2 separate regions of the Homo sapiens genome follow, and region 2 is linked to region 1. The links are contacts of gene promoters, found by promoter capture Hi-C in blood cells and fetal thymus (Javierre and others, 2016). All regions are on one chromosome and are shown on one strand. Each heading gives the region's core, a stretch centred on a gene start or on the middle of the fragment in contact. The rest is flanking DNA. Distances are from core to core; before and after follow the strand shown. Region 1 holds the start of LRP1-AS (LRP1 antisense RNA). Region 2 overlaps NEMP1 (nuclear envelope integral membrane protein 1).

What was found. The method cuts DNA at HindIII sites, captures the fragments that hold promoters and counts their contacts. A CHiCAGO score of 5 or more calls a contact.
Region 2: a contact is called between a fragment that was not itself captured here and the fragment with the promoter of LRP1-AS in region 1, in 3 of 17 cell types (megakaryocytes, M0 macrophages and M2 macrophages). The highest score is 6.0, in megakaryocytes.

Annotation. Positions count from the first base shown.
Region 1 is chr12:57,146,128-57,148,967 of GRCh38, forward strand. LRP1-AS (LRP1 antisense RNA) reads right to left here and starts at 1,492. Exons shown (of 2, transcript NR_131938.2): 1 at 1,312-1,492. The region is part of intron 6 of LRP1 (LDL receptor related protein 1); the gene reads left to right. RefSeq lists an enhancer at 106-1,034. The HindIII fragment of the contact is 5,560 bases long and covers 1-2,026 here.
Region 2 is chr12:57,058,349-57,061,188 of GRCh38, forward strand. It overlaps NEMP1 (nuclear envelope integral membrane protein 1), which reads right to left. Exons shown (of 9, transcript NM_001130963.2): 8 at 2,424-2,597; 9 at 1-1,711. The coding sequence ends at 1,531. Among named protein-coding and RNA genes, the nearest start is that of MYO1A, 9.6 kb to the left of the region's middle. The HindIII fragment of the contact is 1,220 bases long and covers 865-2,084 here.

The DNA.
Region 1 (2,840 bases), core at 242-2,741:
GGGTGTCACAGAAAGGGGCACGAGCATAGCTGGGTGTAGACCCACTGCCGGGAACAGCCCTGCCCATCTCAGAGGCTGTTACACCAGCAACCTTAAAAGTCAACATCTGGCAGCATCACATTTCCAAAGAAATGCACCACAGGGCTGAGAGGAAGAATCTGGCCTGTGGTTGATCTGACCCCCTAAGGGAGATTAACTTGATCTGTAACTGTTTAGTAAACCAGAATTCCCATCTCTGCCTTGGTTTCCTAATCTGCATAATGGGTTTGAGCTTGTCTGTCTAGATCAGATTAACTGGAGTGAAAGCCAGTGGTAAAGGACAGCACACTTTGAAGTTGAGGATTGTGAACCTTGGGCCTCTCTAGAAGATCTTCAAGTTTCTTTATTTGGTTCTTGTGATGAAAAGAAAGATCCCAGGAGGTTACAAGGGATTCATTCTGGGAGAGAGAAAGGCCCCTCCCCGGGATGGTGGCGAGCAGGGGTTCCTCTGAGAGCCCTCACTCTCCGTGGCCTCAGCGTAAGGTTCACATTTCTGCCTTTGGCTCCTCCAGAGCATCCCTGATAGCGTCCTTGGGCTGCTGCTGTCCACAGCTCACCTGTGATCAGACATGTGTCCTCCTTGGGGTGCTGAGCTGGGGGCTGTCAAGCCTGGTTGGCTGAGCTCTTAACGAGTGGGCGACTCAGGGAACCCCATGGCTGATGGGGTGGGATTGGTGCTAGACCCTCTTGTGCAGCTGCCCTCCCCCTGTTCCTTGTCCACTGACCTACTCAACAGGCCTGTCTGGGCAGACAGCTTGTCAGTTTCCTCCCCAGCCCTGCATCTTGCCATACAGTGGGCTTCTGGGTAGGTGGCTATGGGGTGTCCTGGAGGTAACCTTCTCAACTTCTACTCTGGCCTCATCTCCTTATCTGACTTCCTCCCCAGGAGAAGCTGGTACCCCTCCCTTGGCAAACAGATTTGCCTTGCCTCCCAGTCTGCTAAACTCACTGGGCCTCTCAGGGGCAGAGTCCAGGAGGCTAGAAGAGTCCAAGGGGAAATGCTTGTGGGGTAAATGAGTGGGTTTCTCTCATCCCAGCTTCTGTCCCTTCCTCCCTGCCCTCCCCCTGCTCCACGTCCCTGCCGCCTGAATGTCTGGCTGTCACCCTGAGGATGGTTGTTTTGCTCTCTCCCACAAACTAATTATGGGTCCCAAACTGAGGACGTCAGTGTCTCTCCCCTAGCCCCTCCCCCAGTTTCTGGGTCATCCCCCTCCCCAGGAGATGCTGACTGGCCTGCCCTGGTGTGTAGGGTGGCTGGTCCCAGGCACTCACCTGCACAGTGGCTGCTGGCCTGTAATTAGCTCCCCAAGGAGGACGAAGAAGAAAGGCTGCAGCTTTCCCCTGCTTTCACTCTGCCCTCCAGGGCAGCCCTCCCTGCAAGCCTTCCATTCTGTGCTGTGACTGTGACCTCTGTTGGACCCCTGGGGCTGAGCCTCATGCAGCAGGGGTGCACACAGAGGGAGGAGTCTGACAATTGAGGGGTGTTCGAGCCAGCGAGGCCAGCCCGCTGGTGCAGGCAGAAGGGGGAGCCTGCCCCAGAGAAAACTCTGGAAGCAGAAATAGAATAGAAAGAAGGAAGGAGGCCAGGAAATGAGCCTGGTTCACATGTGTCCTGGGCCATGTGAGTCAGACCTGTTGTGGAGTCCTGAGAGCCCCCGAGGGCCCCCCTGAGGCCCTGCAGTGTGTGAACATTCCTCTTCAATGCCCCAGGGCTGCTGACCCTCCTGCCTCAGGCCCAGTGTTATCCCCCTGGATTGGGTGGGTCATCTCTTTTCCTCCCACCTGAGATTACCTCCCCCTCCCCTCTGCCGCTGGCCCAGTGGTTTGGGGAGGTCTATGAGGCTCGAATTCCAAGACCAGAGAACTCCATGGTGAGAGCCGGAAGAGAAGGCAAGACCCTTGGCCAGTACCAAGAGCAGCCCTGGCTTTCACTACTGCTTTCTCAAAGGGGCTATGCATTGATTTGATTTTAGATGGTACCTGGACAAGCTTTTTTTTTTTTTTTTTAACTGTTATAGTTACGTTTTTATTTGATATGCATTAGGAAACTCCTGTAACTAGCACATCAAATCTGTTACTTCAGCAATTGTTTAGCATGCAGCGAAATAAGAAAAGTAAGTTAATTGAAATAACTGGTAATAAACAGTAGCGCAAGCTGTACATAAGCATGGTAGACATTTTGAAAGTGATACACAAAAGACTAAAGTTCTGAAAATTGAGGCCCAGAGGGATCAACAGGCCTGATAGTCCCTTAGTCAGGAACCAGGCCTGCGCACTCTCACCCCCACCTCTGACCAGTCTCTCAGCTCCAGAGGCCTATGGAGCCTGTAACCCAGCTTTGTCCAGCCTCCTGCCAGGCTGCCCCTGGGCAGGCCTGGTGGTGCAGTCTACCGACCCCAGCCCAGCCCTGCATTTCCTAAGCTGAGCTCCTCTGATCTGTATTCCCTTCACCTTGGAGGATGCCACCACTGTAGAAAGAATGAGGCAGACTGCAAGATTGGGGTCCTGGGAACATGGGTGTGTATGGTGAGGGGAGGTTCTGAGGTTGTAAATAGAGGCCTTGAAGGAAATCGGGTTTGCTGAAGTCACTCAGGAGTTTGGACTGTGTGTGAAAGGATGGTCTGAAGGGGCTCTCAGAGGTCTCAGGGTTCCCCTCCCTGCACCATGCTGCATGGGGAAGAAGGAGGTGGCTGGGGAGCTCAGCAAAGGGCCCCTAGGCTGCAGGCAGCAAGGTTGCGAAATGGGTCCCAGGTCCAGCTGGCCAACTTCACTTTTCCCTTCCTCTCCCTTTCTTTTATTTA
Region 2 (2,840 bases), core at 225-2,724, 88 kb before region 1:
GCCTTTTTCCATCATCTTGGTGAGCCAGTAAGTCTGGTGCTGTGCGCTTGCCATGACCATCTATCTTCCTGGCTAAGGTAATTACAGACTTTTCCAGGGTATAAGGGTGAAGACCACAAAGAAAAAGAACCAAGTAAATGACAGACACTTGAGAATTTGCTTCCTCACAGATGACATTGCTGGTTTATAAGGGGTACTTTGCAATGGCAAAAGAATCTGAAACTAATGCTACTGCAATAACAGGCAGCATACATCTCAGGTCAGAAACGCAATCATAAATAAGTGTAAGTTCATGGAAACTTGACAGCTGAATGAGCACCCAGAGGCATGAAGATAACCTGGAGCCTATTTCCTGGCAATGCAAATTGTGGCTGCTGCATAACTACAAATTGTGTATCAAGAAACTACATAGTTTCAAGGCTTAAAAATTACCCAGATTTGGGGGAGTATGGGTGGTGAGAAAAGGCTGAAAGGAATGGACAGAGCATGTAGACAAAGGAAGGGAAAGGAAAAGGAGACAGTTTCCTGATTTCATAGCAACTCAAAGATAACATGACCCAATGACAGGAAAATGGAGAACGTATAAAAAGCATCCAAATCCCCTAAACAAGATGACTTCTCCTAGCTAGCAGGAATAATGCTACTCTGAACATACATAGTTCACAGGTAAGGGAACTGACCCTTCCTGAAAGGGCAAAGGCAGGGTAAGGAAGAATGGGAAGAGAAGAATACAAATGTTTTTTAAGATGGAATTGAAAGTTGAATATAATAAAAAGCCCAGTACATCTCACCTGCAGAAGAGCCTACAGGCATGTTCCTAAAGGCAAATAGGACTTTCTATCATATGTATGAGAACTAAATCAAAGCTTAAAACAACAGCTCCTGGGGCTTTAATGGATAATCCATATTAATAAATATGTAGGGGCCTAGGGGGTGTGTCACTCTGGAGCACTTGCTGGTTCTGGAACATGAGTTTGTTATGTTTTTTAAAAGACATTCATTTAAAAAACAAAACAATAAAAATCTATTTTCCTCCCAAAACAGTTAAATCAATAATTATTCTAAAGTCACTGAAATAAAAGCTGGAGTGAAGGAGGCTCAGATTTGTGGATTTCTCTCTGGAAGTTGCAGCCTATAGTCTAAAAGCATTCCTGCACTTAACAACAGTTCTTACTTTGGAGAGCCAGCCAGTGACAGAAATGCCATGATTGAATCAACTTTCAAGAAGGAGCTAGAATGCCATGCTAGCTGTGGCCATCCAATTTCTCTGGAAACATAAAAGTGGGCTGTTAGCTTAACCAATGGGAAGTGAACTACCCAGCATTCACTACTTTATCCACTCTCCTTCCTCAGGGATCCCATAGAGACCTCCCATTTCCAAAGGGAGGCCTTTTTAGGCCTCTTATTTCAGTAGGAGAATTTCTACCCTATCTATCTCACTCTGTTTCAAAGGGTTGAAAGCAATTGCACAACACATGCAACATGGACCAAGGCACCAAGCCAGTCCACGTAAAGATAACTGACCACTACCTAGGTTAGAAAGTTGTTCTGTGTGATAGCAGGACACCGAGAATATGAGTCCTCCTCCTCAGAGGATGCTTCCTCATAGATTTCATCCTGGGCAATAATGCTCCCTAATCCATACTCCTGCTCATGGACAGAAACTTCATTTGGCGTGAGGTGGGAAGAGCCTTCCACAAAGTCAGCAAATCTGGAAAAGAGAAGATAATACTCGTTAGAAATATCCTTCTGTCCTTTCTGGTCTTCTTTCAAAATAAGAACAAATTAAAGCCCTCGATATGCTCGCAACTCAAATTATATTAAGTCTAGCCAACATCCTTGTCCTTACTCTGGCAGGTAAGTAGACTAAAGCATGAAGTTAAGGAGAAAAGGAAAGCTGGGATCATAGGCTAATACCCCTGCAACTCCATCCTGCTTAATAAGCACTTGCCTATCCTTTCTAATTATGAAAGTGCCAAGGTTCCTTTAGTCATCTGTAATCCTGATAAGAGAAGATTAAGGGGCATTACAGTTATTCACGTTTATGGCCCTGTAAACTTTATGCCATCATGATTCCAAATTGAAGCTTCACATACTCATTGGTACATTTGCCCCCAACTAAAAAGTGGGTAGGGGGGAACCCTACCAACTCAGACAGCAATGCAAAACTTTCAGAAGGGAAACTTAATATGGTACTGGAGTCTTCCCATCTTAATGCTACAATCAAAGCTAGAGTAGATAGTTCCCTGAGGAAACAGGTTACTGCTTAATGTGTGATTATATATCCACCCTTCTCTTGACTACTTGAAGATTAACAGGAAAACAAAGGTCACAAGTGCACGATTCTCTAGAAGTATGATCTCTGGTAGAACTCAAGGTCACAATTACCCTGATAGATGCTTGGTATATCTGGCCGAGTTTACCTTTTTGGAGACTGGATTCGAGAAACAGTCTTCCAAGCAGAGCAGTCTGGACTGTTACAAAATTCTCGGAGCTCCTCTAAAGCCTTTCGGGTTTCTACCTCTCCTTGTATCCGATATTCTTCTTCTGTCAGGAGACGAGGGGGAACAGGCTTTTCTGCTCCCTTACACACCTTTCTGTGCTCACCAAAATAACATTATGAATCATTAATCAGTAATCTATATCCATCCTTACTTCTAGCTCCCTTCAGTGGGCCAAGAATACAGCAGACAGCCTGAACATTAAGAGTCATCACTCCTAAAAATTCCATGGACATCTTTAGTTATAATGAACTCCTGATACATTAGACTATGAGTGACAATTCATAGGCGACAGAGCGAGACTCCATCTCAAAAAAAAAGTGATATAATTTGCACCAC